Regions from separate parts of the Homo sapiens genome. Here regions 2 and 3 are each linked to region 1. The links are contacts of gene promoters, found by promoter capture Hi-C in blood cells and fetal thymus (Javierre and others, 2016). All regions are on one chromosome and are shown on one strand. Each heading gives the region's core, a stretch centred on a gene start or on the middle of the fragment in contact. The rest is flanking DNA. Distances are from core to core; before and after follow the strand shown. Region 1 holds the start of DPP7 (dipeptidyl peptidase 7). Region 2 holds the start of LCN6 (lipocalin 6). Region 3 holds the start of ENTPD8 (ectonucleoside triphosphate diphosphohydrolase 8).

Region 1 (4,270 bases), core at 1,100-3,599:
CCCCGGTCTCTGAGTTCCCTCAGTATTTATTCATTACCATTTTCACTATCTTTGCATGAGGAATGCGGCAGCAGAGCAGAGGTCAGCAAGAAAATGTGAGCAAAGGCATCTGTGTCACAAATAGCTTGAAGGGAAGGTGCTGTGCCCGGATGTGCACGTAGGCCAGATTCATGCTTCTCTCCACCCAAACATCTCAGTGTAGCAGAGTAACAGAGCAGCATTGCCGCCAGCATATCTCGCCTCCAGCCACAGGGCGGTTTTCTCCTGTCTCAGAATAGAACTAATGTACGATCGGGTTTTACACGGAGACATTCCGTTCCCAGGGGCATGTCGGAGACAGAAGCCTTCCTCTTATCTCAACTGCAAAGAGGCCTCCCTCTTTCACTAATCCTCCTCAGCACAGACCCTTTATGGGTGTCGGGCTGGGGGACGATCAGGTCTTTCCCTTCCCACGAGGCCATATCTCAGGCCGTCTCACTGGGGGGAAACCTGGACAATACCCAGGCTTTCTTGGGCAGAGGTCCCTGCGGCTTTCCGCAGTGCACTGTGTCCCTGGTTAATGGAGAATGGAGGATGGCGATGACTTTTACCAAGCATACTGCCTGCAAACACATTGTTAACAAAGCACATCCTGCACAGCCCTAAATCCCCTAAACCTTGAGTCAATACAGCACATGTTTCTGTGGGCACAGGGATGGGGCTAAGGTTACAGGTTACCAGCACAGGCCTAGATGCCTTAAACCTTGATTCCATACAGCATATGTTTCTGTGGGCACAGGGATGTGGGCAGGGGACTGTGGCCACCCTCACCCCTGGCAGAGCCATGCTGGGTAGCCCCATGCCCACCCTTCCCGGCTTGGGAGGCCCTGGCTGCTGCCCAGAGGGGCATCAATGCCTGGGCCGTGGACAAGAGGGAAAGTGGCTTCCTTGGAAACCCTGCTCCTGGAGCCCTCCCTGAGGCTCTGGCCCCTCTGTGGGCCCAGCCAAGCCTGGAGCGTCTCCAGGCTCTGGTGTGCTTGGGGAGCTGGCCAGCTCTCGGCCTAGCTGGCGTCTCCAGAGCTGCGGTCCTGGGTGAGGGTTGCTGGTGGAGTTCTGGCCACCTAAGGCACCCGAGGGAGCCAAAGGAGCAGAGGTGTGGGGTGGGGGACGCCGTGGGGTACCTCCACATCCAAGGAGGTCTGCTGTTTGTCCTCACCCCCGTCCTGCGGGGGCCCCGGCAGGCAGCCCCAGGAACTGCGTAGGGATGGGACAGGGCCCAGATGTGAGGGCCGTGGTGGGGACGGTGTGTGGCCCTGGATGACCTCGTGTTGCAGTGTGACGTGATGGTCACTGCCACCATGCTGAGGGCCCCAGCCACCAGTCACCCACCATGGGGGGTGCCTCTGTGTGAGGCACGGGAGGGCCATGGCGTGAGGGGCTGTGGAAGTGGCCGGTCTTCTCCGCTCAGCCCCACACAGGATGGGCAGGGCAGGGTCATGCTGGCCGAGGGTAGTCTTGGGAGAAGGACAGGGTAACTCTCTGTAGCTGAGCCCCTGCTGCCCCTGCACCTGTTCTGGGCCTGGCTAGCGGCCCATGTACATCCCCAGCAGGACTCCACGTAGCTAGTCTGGCACCCACCACTACGGCCCCCTCACCCACTCCCTGAACTGGACGCTGGGGAAAGGTGACTTCTTCCATCCTCTGGGTGCTCCCCAGGGAGGAGGCCCCAGCTCCCAGCAGAGGCCTCTGGTCCCCCCTTGTCCCTGCAGGGCTGTGTGGGCACACTGGGTGCCAGTCGGAAGGGCAGGTGGCGATTCCCAGCTCTTGGGAGCTACCCGGCCACATCCCGGCCCTGCCCAGACGCTCCAGGGGCACCCCACACTCCTGCCCGCTGCGAGGCCCCGCCCCGCCAAGCCCAGCCCGTTATCGCTTGGACAAACCCTGGGTTGCTTTCTTCGGGGGGCCAGCACTCTGTTTGGGACCCTCTCCCTCCCGCCCTTAGGGCAGCAGAACGGCCCCCACTCTCCCGGCCCTGCCTTGGAGTGGGGCACCTGCCAGGAGCAAGTGCTGGGGAGGCTTGGCGGGCGCAGCAGGGACTCGCCCTAGCGCAGCTCCGGATGGGGCCGCGGTAGGAGGACGAGCCAGTGGGGCGGGAGGCCGCGGAGATGGCCCGGGGGCCCTCTGCTTCCCCGCGCCGTGCCCGGGAAGGACCCCTGGGCAGCGGCCGCGGGGCGCGGGGTGTTGGGGGGCACAGCCCCGGCGCGGCGCTGAAGCAGCGACGGTCTCCGTGGGGACCGCGGGCGCCCGAAACACGTGGGGCCTGGAGGGAGGAGCGCGCCCTGGCGGCCCCGTGACCCCGCCCACGTGACGGGCGCCCGCGGAAGGCGACATGGGCTCCGCTCCCTGGGCCCCGGTCCTGCTGCTGGCGCTCGGGCTGCGCGGCCTCCAGGCGGGGGGTGAGTGGCGGCGCCCCCCGGCCCATTCCCCGGTCCCGGCCCCGCCTCTGAGGTTCGCGTCCCCCCACAGCCCGCAGGGCCCCGGACCCCGGCTTCCAGGAGCGCTTCTTCCAGCAGCGTCTGGACCACTTCAACTTCGAGCGCTTCGGCAACAAGACCTTCCCTCAGCGCTTCCTGGTGTCGGGTGAGACCCCGGCCCCGGCCCGGCCGCCCCCGCCGTCCCGCCGCCCCCCGGCACCCTCGCCTCATCCGCCCTCCCCACAGACAGGTTCTGGGTCCGGGGCGAGGGGCCCATCTTCTTCTACACTGGGAACGAGGGCGACGTGTGGGCCTTCGCCAACAACTCGGCCTTCGTCGCGGAGCTGGCGGCCGAGCGGGGGGCTCTACTGGTCTTCGCGGAGCACGTGGGTGCCGGGCGGGGTCGCGGGCGGGGTCGCGGGGCACGTGGGTGCCGGGCGGGGTCGCGGGCGGGGGTCGCGGGGCACGCGGGTGCCGGGCGGGGTCGCGGGCGGGGGTCGCGGGGCACGCGGGTGCCGGGCGGGGTCGCGGGCGGGGGTCGCGGGGCACGCGGGTGCCGGGCGGGGTCGCGGGGCCGGGCTCAATGGCACGTTCCCCCAGCGCTACTACGGGAAGTCGCTGCCGTTCGGTGCGCAGTCCACGCAGCGCGGGCACACGGAGCTGCTGACGGTGGAGCAGGCCCTGGCCGACTTCGCAGAGCTGCTCCGCGCGCTACGACGCGACCTCGGGGCCCAGGATGCCCCCGCCATCGCCTTCGGTGGAAGGTGGGCGCCTCCCCCGGCCTCCGCACCCCCTCCCTCCCCTGCCCCGACCCAGCGCCCCCAGCCCTTCTCCCCACTCCCCTCTGACTCCCACCGCTGCCTTTTCGTAAGGCCTCAGGCAGTGGTTCCAGGCTTAGTGTTGCCTCCCCCAGGAAGCCCTCCCACCTGTCCTCCCAGCCACCTGCTCAGCTTGGATGTGCGGCCACACTAGCGGCCTTTCCCAGTGAGAGCTGCACCCGCACCTGGCCCAGGGTTGGAATTTGTGGGTCTCAGAAGTGTCGTCCTCCTTGTGGCACCTGTGGGCCCCTGAGGAGGAAAAGAGGAAATGGGGTGTTGGGGGCAGCAGCCCTAACCCTGTGTCCCTCACCCAGTTATGGGGGGATGCTCAGTGCCTACCTGAGGATGAAGTATCCCCACCTGGTGGCGGGGGCGCTGGCGGCCAGCGCGCCCGTTCTAGCTGTGGCAGGCCTCGGCGACTCCAACCAGTTCTTCCGGGACGTCACGGCGGTGAGTGAGGCTTGGGGTCCTCCAGGCCCCCTAAGGGACAGCAGCTGCAGTCAGCACGGTCTCTTTCCCCCAGGACTTTGAGGGCCAGAGTCCCAAATGCACCCAGGGTGTGCGGGAAGCGTTCCGACAGATCAAGGACTTGTTCCTACAGGGAGGTGAGGTCCTCCCACCGCCTCCCACTGCCTGACCCGCCCCAGCGCCAGCTATGCCCAAACTTCAAGTCTCTGCCCCTTCCACGCAGCCTACGACACGGTCCGCTGGGAGTTCGGCACCTGCCAGCCGCTGTCAGACGAGAAGGACCTGACCCAGCTCTTCATGTTCGCCCGGAATGCCTTCACCGTGCTGGCCATGATGGACTACCCCTACCCCACTGACTTCCTGGGTCCCCTCCCTGCCAACCCCGTCAAGGTGAGGCGCCGCCTCCCAGGGCGCAGGGAGAGGCCGGCTGGAGTGTCCCGAGGCTGGTGGTCAGCGGCCTGACCCTCATCCTGGGAGCCAGGGAGGCGGAGCTGGTGGAGGGGACCCCGCTGAGTCGCCGCTGCCCCTGCA
Region 2 (4,270 bases), core at 914-3,413, 370 kb after region 1:
AGCTCTTTCTGCTGTTAGCTTGAGAATACAGAGAAAAACTACTGTGTTCAGAAGTTACCAGGGGCAGTCCTTTCCCCTTCAGTGTGGCTGTCATTTATCTATAATGCAACTATATCCCATGTTTGGAATTTGTTTATTTTACTTTTGAGTATAACAGTATAACATACCAAATTACTTTGATTCCAAAGTCAAAACTATACAAAAACGTTTACTCAAAAAAGTCTAACTTCATCCCCCCACCCTGTTCCAGCTCCCCACCCCAGCAGGGAACTAGTCTCATTAGACTCTGAGGTTTATCCTTTGTTTTTGTTTGTTTGTTTGTTTGTGTGTTTGTTTGTTTTTTGAGACGGAGTCTTACTCACTCTGTCACCCAGGCTGGAGTGCAGTGGCGCAATCTCGGCTCACTGCAACCTCTGCCTCCCGGGTTCAAGCGATTCTCCTGCCTCCGCCTCCCGAGTAGCTGGGATTACAGGCTTGCGCCACCACCACGCCCGGCTAATTTTTGTACTTTTACTAGAGATGGGGTTTCACTAAGTTGGCCAGGCTGGTCTCGAACTCCTGACCTCAGGTGATCTGCCCGCCTCGGCCTCCCAAAGTGCTGGGATTATAGGCATGAGCCACCACACCCGGCTGATGTAGCGTGCTGTTTTGTGGCTGCCTCGAGAACCAGGCTCCCCGCAGCCCTTAGGGACACTAGTGGGGCTGGCAGGTGTTTCCTTCTCAGAGGCCTGGCCCAGCTGCTCGGCTTCCTCCTTTTTGTATTTTTATTTTATTTTAGAGATGGGGTCTTGCTCCATCACCCAGGCTGGAGAGGAGTGGCACGATCACAGCTCACTGCAGCCTCAACCTCCTGGGCTCAAGCAATCCTCCTACCTCAGCTTCCTGAGTAGCTGGGACTACAGGAGCACGCCACCATGTCCAGCTAATTTTTAAACTTGCTTGTAGAGACGAAGTCTTGCTATGTCGCCCAGGCTGGTCTCAAACTCCTGGACTCAAGTGATCCTCCCGCCTCAGCCTCCTGAAGTGCTGGGATTACCGCGAGCAGCCACGGCTCCCTCCTGAAGGCTCCAGGCCTAAGTGTCCCGCTCCCTTGTTCTGTGGCTCAGCCCCTGGGCAACTCCTGCTTGCCATGGCTGTGGCTGGCACCTCCGTGGCCCCACTGCCCGGTCAGTCTTCGCAGGCCCAGCCCCCAGTAGCTGTGTGGTTTCTGCCTTCCTCCTGCACTCTGGTGGTCACAGGCCCTGCTGCGTGGGTACAGGGCAGGTGGCCAGGGCTGCAGCATAAGCTCTGTGAGTGCAGGCGGCCCTGGGCACTGGAGCCTTGTTGCATGGACGTGCTCCTTGCACCCTTGTTGATGAATGAGCGAAGGTGTGTGGGAGTGAATCCCAGAGGGTGCAGGCCACGGCACTGGGGGAGGACCCTCCCGGCTGCCTCCCAGTGGGCTTCAGGGGCTCAGATAGACCCTGCCGAGCACCTCTGTCCTCTGCTCCCGGACTGGGGCTGCAGAGAGCTCTCAAGGGGCCTTGGGAGGCACAAGCAGGCCAGGGTCCCAGGGAGGGGAGGCAGGAGGCAGCAGGGCCGGATGGTGGGCTGCAGAGGTGGAAGGAACAGGACAGTCTGTTCTGGGGGTGCTGGCTGTGGGGGACAGAGGCCAGGCCACAAAGCAGAATGGTGGGTGGGCCAGGAGGAGGTGGGAGCCTTTTTCAAAAGGCTTTCAGGGACTTTTTATATTTAATGATTGAAACAAAAGATATCCAAAACCGCAGTTCCTGAGAACCACTTGTTCTCGCCCTGGTTCCTCTCCTTGGGCTTGACCTTGGCCTCCTGCCGGGCCTGGCAGCGGACAGCAGTCTCCCTGCTTCCCAGGCTGGGCGAGGGAGAGCGTGGGTCCCCAGGAACGGGGGAGGTGGTGCGGCTGGCTTTAGGATGCCCATTCTGGAACCTTCTGGTGGAAGAAAGCAGGGGATCAGTATAGTATGGTTGATCCACACACTCCAGACCCTCTCCTGGCTGTGCAGCTGGTCTGATCTGGGCTCAGAGGCTGCCACTGCTCAGTGCTCCCCTGGGTAATTTTGCAGGAGGCCAGGAGGGTTCCTGGCAGTTAGTGCCACCCACACGGAGAAATTCAGAGCCATATAAACGGGTCTCCAGGGCCTGGAGGGACTGCACATCCTGGGCCTGCGGCGCAGTGTAGACCTGGGAGGATGGGCGGCCTGCTGCTGGCTGCTTTTCTGGCTTTGGTCTCGGTGCCCAGGGCCCAGGCCGTGTGGTTGGGAAGACTGGACCCTGAGCAGGTACAGTCCTCCTGGGGGTGGGGAGAGCTGGTCCTCGGGGGCCAGCCCCTCCTTTAAGGCCACACAGCTTCTGGGCCCCCCAGGGCTAGCCCAGACCAGCATGAGCAGTGGGGAATTAGTTGGGCCAGCCCTTGGGGAGTCCCACAGGCAGGAGCCTCAGGGCAGGAGGGGTGGATGCTGGAGGGTTGGAGGCTGGAGGGCTGGAGAATTGGAGGCTGGAGACTGGAGGTTGCAGGGCTGGAGGGTGTAGGGTTGGAGAACTGGAGGCTGGAGGGCTGGAGGCTGTAGGGCTGGAGAACTGGAGGCTGGAGGCTGCTGGGCTGGAGGCTGGAGGGCTGTAGAACTGGAGGCTGGAGGGCTGGAGGCTGGAGGGCTGCAGAACTGGAGGCTGGAGGGCTGGAGAGCTGGAGACTAGAGGCTGCAGGGCTGCAGGCTGGAGGTTGGAAGGCTGGAGGGCTGGAGCCTAGAGGCTGTAGGGCTGGAAGGCTGGAGGCTGGAGGGTTGGAGGTCTGGGGGGTTGGAAGCTGGAGGCTGGAGGGCTGGAGAACTGAAGGCTAGAGGCTGCAAGGCTGGAAGGTTGGAGGCTGGAGGGCGGGAGGGTTGGAGACTGGAGGCTGGAGGGCTGGATGGTTGGAGGGTGGAGGCTGGAGGCTGCAGGGCTGGAAGGCTGGAGGCTGGAGGGTTGGAGGCTGGAGGCTGGAGGGCTGGATGGTTGGAGGGTGGAGGCTGAGGCTGGAGGTTTGGAGGCTGGAGGCTGAGGCTGGAGGGTTGGAGGCTGGAGGCTGGAGGCTGGAGGGCTGGCGGCCCTAACGGGAGCCGCCTCAATGCAGCTTCTTGGGCCCTGGTACGTGCTTGCGGTGGCCTCCCGGGAAAAGGGCTTTGCCATGGAGAAGGACATGAAGAACGTCGTGGGGGTGGTGGTGACCCTCACTCCAGAAAACAACCTGCGGACGCTGTCCTCTCAGCACGGGTGAGTGGGCGGGTCCTGCCAGGCCTTCCCGCAGGCAGGACTGTGGCTCAGCCACATCATGTACTTTGCACATCTGCTCCCGGGCACCGCGGCCTGGGGGCTTCCCACGGCCCCTCTGCACCCCCGTCACTTTTCCCACTGGGCTCTGTGCAGAGCCACCAGCCCTCTGCCCAGCTACTCACATCTGTGTCCCTGGGGCCTCCAGGTGGCACTCCCACCTTCAATACCGCGGCGGGCACTGCTCTGACTATGCTCCTTCATGCATCCCTGTCCTGGGTCATCTGGGCTGCAGGCTGTGGTCAGAGCTGGGGAAGCCTGTCCTCTCAGCAGGCCTTTTTCGGGAATTCTGTTTAAAGGAGGATAATGCATTCGGACCTAAGAACCACTGGTTCTTTCATAACATAAATCCCCAAACAATATGGTCATGGACGCTGTTGGCCAGACTGGCCTTGTGGCCTCAGGCAGGCGCACCCGACCACATGCATGGCTGGTGGCGGCGTGCAGGGGTCGGGTGGGCCAGGCTGTGGGGCGGCCGTGCTACACAGGGGACACCTACAGGGCAGCCGGGCTGTGGGGGTAGCCGTGCTGGGGCAGGAGTCGGTGCCCGCCTCCCTTCACAGAAGAGTGGCCTGCTGGGTGGCGTGGTGGGTGTCTACCCCCTGGCAGGCTGGCGACAGAGCCCAGGCCTGAACCACTGAGCCAGGTACGGGGCCCAGAGAGAAGAACCTGCCCTCCTCACCAGCGTGCCTTCCCCCTGCACCTGCGCCTGCAGGGTATGGGCAGGGGCCCCACTGCACCCCCCGGGCCAGGCCTGGCCTCAGGGCGAGCTGGGACCAAGGGGCTCCAGGCTGAGGTGGCAGCTCCCACGTGGCTTTCCTAGTTCTTCTTGCTGTTCCTCCCGCATGGACTCAGCCTCAGTTTCCTTCCTTGGCAAACACCATTGCACCTTTGCTGGGTTTTGCTCACTCTGGGGACTGACCACTTAGGGAGCGCCGGCCCCTTCCCC
Region 3 (4,270 bases), core at 1-2,500, 330 kb before region 1:
TAGCCTGGGTGACAGAGCGAGACTCCATCTCAAAAAAAAAAAAAAAAAAGGACAACTTCCCAGACTCATTTTATAAGCCCAGCATTATCCCCATACAGAAACCAGGACTAAAAAAGAAAACTATGCAACTTTGTTGAACACAACTGCAAAAATCCTCAACAAACACATTTGACTCTTATGACCCATGGCAGCTAGTGTATAAAGTTGCTGCAAACACTGAATTAAAGAATATGCTAAACTATTGCTCCTAAGGGAAATGCAAAGTTCTGTTCCTGCAAGCTTCTGGTCACATTTTTGTTAAATGATCAATATATTAATAAAACCTTCTTTTATGTGTATTTTTGTTTAAGGGCACCTTACTTAATATGTATTGTATCACTAACATTGAACTCATGGCCAACAGCGCTAACTCTTGCACGAATGAAGCTTATCCAATGTGTGTTTTCTCTGTAAAGTGCATCTCAGCCTTCTTGCATTTCTGCACTATGCTGAGACGCCATTATAAACAGTGAAATCACCAAGAAAAAGCACAAAAATGCACACACATGACACCAAATATGCTACCAGTAAAGAGAGTCCCGATTGAGACCCCAAGAGGGTTCTTGGATCTCACACAGAAAGGAATTCACCGCCCCCCCGCATTCCCCCACCCTATTCCCCGCCCCCCAACACCCCCAGCCCCACCCAGCCCGGCCCTGGCTCCGCGCCTCCCCCAGCCCCGCCCCGCTTCAGAGGCCCGGACCCCGACGGCGGCGGCCCCGGGACCCACGGCGAGCGGGAAAGGCAGAGTGGCTGCAAATGGAAAACGACGGGCGCCGCGGGGCTGCAGGCGCTTCCGCCCCCGCCCCGGGCCTGGACCTTCGGGGTCACCTGACTCCGACCTGCCCGGGCCGGGCGGCACGGGGGGTAAAGTCCGGGCCGGGGTCAGGAGCGCGGCTGCGGGCCGTGGGGGGCGGGGTCCCGGAGTTCTGCCCCTCGCAGCTCCAGGCTCCTCCTCAGCTTCCCTCTCCTGCCTCCCACCCCCCCGGGGGCGGGGCGACCCTGGGCACCGAGACAGACCCGCGGGTGGGAGATGCGGGGAGACCCTGGGCGGGGGACCCGAGGGTGGAGTGGGCGGGGCGACCTTGGGCGCTGGCCTCAGCCTGCGGGCCCTGGAGCCAGGTGCACAGCGCATCGCCCGAGGCTGTCACCGCCCTGCCCCGCCCACCCCAGCTGTCCTGGACCCAGGGGCAGGGAGAGGCTGGACGCCAGGTGCGCGGACACAGAAGCGTCTAAGCACAGCTTCCTCCTTGCCGCTCCGGGAAGTGGGCAGCCAGCCCAGGTGAGGGTCCAAAGGGATGTCCTGGGGGGGCTGTCCTGGTCTGGGGGGCTGTCCTGGTCTGGGGGGCTGTCCTGGTCTGGGGGGCTGTCCTGGTCTGGGGGGGCTGTCCTGGTCTGGGGGGCTGTCCTGGTCTGGGGGGGCTGTCCTGGTCTGGGGGACTGTTCTGTCTGAGGGGGTGTCCTGGTCTGGGGGGGCTGTCCTGGTCTGGGGGGCTGTCCTGGTCTGGGGGGCTGTCCTGGTCTGGGGGGCTGTCCTGGTCTGGGGGGGCTGTCCTGGTCTGGGGGGCTGTCCTGGTCTGGGGGGGCTGTCCTGGTCTGGGGGACTGTTCTGTCTGAGGGGGTGTCCTGGTCTGGGGGGGCTGTCCTGGTCTGGGGGGCTGTCCTGGTCTGGGGGGCTGTCCTGGTCTGGGGGGGGCTGTCCTGGTCTGGGGGGCTGTCCTGGTCTGGGGGGGCTGTCCTGGTCTGGGGGGCTGTCCTGGTCTGGGGGGGCTGTCCTGGTCTGGGGGACTGTTCTGTCTGAGGGGGTGTCCTGGTCTGGGGGGGCTGTCCTGGTCTGGGGGGCTGTCCTGGTCTGGGGGGGCTGTCCTGGTCTGGGGGGGGCTGTCCTGGTCTGGGGGGCTGTCCTGGTCTGGGGGGGCTGTCCTGGTCTGGGGGGCTGTCCTGGTCTGGGGGGGCTGTCCTGGTCTGGGGGACTGTTCTGTCTGAGGGGGTGTCCTGGTCTGGGGGGCTCTCCTGGTCTGGGGGGGGCTGTCCTGGTCTGGGGGGCTGTCCTGGTCTGGGGGACTGTTCTGTCTGAGGGGGTGTCCTGGCCTGGGGGGCTCTCCTGGTCTGGGGGGGGGCTGTCCTGGTCTGGGGGGCTGTCCTGGTCTGGGGGGGGCTGTCCTGGTCTGGGGGCTGTCCTGGTCTGGGAATCTGTTCTGTGTGAGGGGGTGTCCTGGTCTGGGGGGCTCTCCTGGTCTGGGGGGGGCTGTCCTGGTCTGGCGGGGGCTGTCCTGGTCTGGGGGGCTGTCCTGGTCTGGGGGGCTGTCCTGATCTGGGAGTCTGTTCTGTGTGAGGGGGTGTCCTGGTCTGGGGGGGCTGTCCTGGTCTCAGGGACTGTTCTGTGTGAGGGGATGTCCTGGCCTGGGGGACTCTCCTGGTCTGGGGGGGCTGTCCTGGTCTGGGGGGGCTGTCCTGGTCTGGGGGGCTGTCCTGGTCTGGGGGGGCTGTCCTGGTCTGGGGGACTGTTCTGTCTGAGGGGGTGTCCTGGTCTGGGGGGCTCTCCTGGTCTGGGGGGGGCTGTCCTGGTCTGGGGGGCTGTCCTGGTCTGGGGGACTGTTCTGTCTGAGGGGGTGTCCTGGTCTGGGGGGCTCTCCTGGTCTGGGGGCACTGTCCTGGTCTCGGGGGGGCTGTTCTGGTCTGGGGGGCGCTTTCCTGGTCTGAGGAGCTGTTCTGATCTGGGAGGCTGTTCTGGTCTTGGGGGTCTTTTGAGTGTGGGAGAGGTTGCCCCAACCTCTTTGCCTACCTGGAGGCTCAGGCCTGGGGGTCTCAGGTGGCTACATCTTCTGGGTGTGGAGTCCCTGTGTTCCTGGCCCCTGTCACCTGTTTGTCCCTATGAGGTGGCCTATGGCCTGGGTGCTGGTTGGGGACACAGGCTGGGCCCTGTCTGGGCTGGACCGGCCTCCTGTCCTCTCTGAGCCTCTGTCATCTACCCTCCTTAAAATGGGCTTATATCCCCCGGACATACAGAATTGCGTGAGGACCCCACAGCGTGTCCCACTTTCCACGTGCCCAGGAGCCCCAGGTCAGGACCAGGGCAGCACCCGCGCCTGCCACTCAGTGTGGGTGCAACGTTTCCCGGGGGAACACGATAGGACACGGTCACATGGGGTTCAGGTGCCGGGACCTTGGCAGGCAGCCTCTGGCTTTGACCACTCCTTTGGCAGTGGTACCCGTGTGAAGTGGGGCTGTATGGGGCACAGGGTCGGCCTGGGGTAGTTTGAGAGCTGAGACCCTTGCTGGGCGTTTGGGCAGAGGAGGAGGTGGACACCTCGGCCACAGGGCTAGAGAAGCCCAGGCCCCTCAGATGGCATCCCTGGGTCCACCTCCCGACCAGGCGCCATCTGGCACCAGCTAAGAAGGTGCAGAGTCAGATTAGGGAAGCCTTGGGCTGGATTTCCAGAGAAACCGATGTTGTTAAGAAGCCTCACACTCGGCTTCCTAGGATGGCTGGCCTCACCCTGGGTTCACCCACAGCCCCTCGGCAACAGTCCCCTCAGGGCTCCAGAGAGAAACCCCCACCCTAGGAGTGCCTGGGGTGGGGGCCGCAGAGAGGAGGCAGAGCCCTGGGCCCCCAGTGCAGGCTGGAGCTGTGGCTGCTCCTGGGGAGGGTGGCACGGGAGAGGCAGGACCGAGGGGTGGGGACACAGGGTGGCCCCATCACATGGTGGGGGCAGCTCCGCGAGTCCCATCCGAGGGGGTCCGAGGGGGCTACTTGGATCCTGCTGGGGCTGTGTCCCCAGACGAGGCCTCTGCTGCCCCCCGCCCCCCTCCCACAGGGCCCTCTGATGCCCATGGCACCCCTGGCAGGCGTGGCTCCTGGGGAGTGGTCCTTGGCCACGGGAGGCGTCTGAGCCCCGGGGATGCCTCTATGGCCACGGGAGACCGTCTGAGCCCCGGGGATGCCTCTATGGCCACGGGAGGCCGTCTGAGCCCCGGGGATGCCTCTATGGCCACGGGAGGCCGTCTGAGCCCCGGAGATGCCTCTATGGCCACGGGAGGCCGCCTGAGCCCCGGAGATGCCTCTAAGGCCACGGGAGACCGTCTGAGCCCCGGGGATGCCTCTATGGCCACGGGAGGCGTCTGAGCCCCGGAGATGCCTCTAAGGCAAGTGGCTGTCCAGGGGTGCGTCTCCAGGGAGACGGGGAGCGAAGCCTCTGCCTCTGGAGGGCGGGATGGGGACACCAAGTGC

Evidence for each region. The method cuts DNA at HindIII sites, captures the fragments that hold promoters and counts their contacts. A CHiCAGO score of 5 or more calls a contact.
Region 2: a contact is called between the fragment with the promoter of LCN6 here and the fragment with the promoter of DPP7 in region 1, in 4 of 17 cell types (neutrophils, endothelial precursors, monocytes and 1 more). The highest score is 7.8, in neutrophils.
Region 3: the fragment with the promoter of ENTPD8 here is called in contact with the fragment with the promoter of DPP7 in region 1 in 3 of 17 cell types (non-activated CD4 T cells, erythroblasts and M1 macrophages); the score reaches 6.6 in non-activated CD4 T cells.

The regions. Positions count from the first base shown.
Region 1 is chr9:137,112,812-137,117,081 of GRCh38, reverse strand. It overlaps DPP7 (dipeptidyl peptidase 7), which reads left to right and starts at 2,349. Exons shown (of 13, transcript NM_013379.3): 1 at 2,349-2,435; 2 at 2,506-2,619; 3 at 2,700-2,839; 4 at 3,054-3,217; 5 at 3,586-3,721; 6 at 3,795-3,876; 7 at 3,963-4,129. The coding sequence starts at 2,369. It overlaps LOC124902314 (a long non-coding RNA gene), which reads right to left and starts at 2,283. Exons shown (of 2, transcript XR_007061874.1): 1 at 38-2,283. RefSeq lists silencers at 2,124-2,473, 2,504-2,653. The HindIII fragment of the contact is 32,578 bases long and covers 1-4,270 here.
Region 2 is chr9:136,746,418-136,750,687 of GRCh38, reverse strand. LCN6 (lipocalin 6) reads left to right here and starts at 2,163. Exons shown (of 7, transcript NM_198946.3): 1 at 2,163-2,294; 2 at 3,125-3,264. The coding sequence starts at 2,205. LOC100128593 (a long non-coding RNA gene) reads right to left here. Exons shown (of 3, transcript NR_033913.1): 2 at 2,116-3,610; 3 at 777-1,942. MIR6722 (microRNA 6722) reads left to right here and starts at 3,718; the gene lies at 3,718-3,795. The HindIII fragment of the contact is 9,973 bases long and covers 1-4,270 here.
Region 3 is chr9:137,438,337-137,442,606 of GRCh38, reverse strand. It overlaps ENTPD8 (ectonucleoside triphosphate diphosphohydrolase 8), which reads left to right and starts at 1,250. Exons shown (of 10, transcript NM_001033113.2): 1 at 1,250-1,321. RefSeq lists a silencer at 1,096-1,390. The HindIII fragment of the contact is 13,084 bases long and covers 429-4,270 here.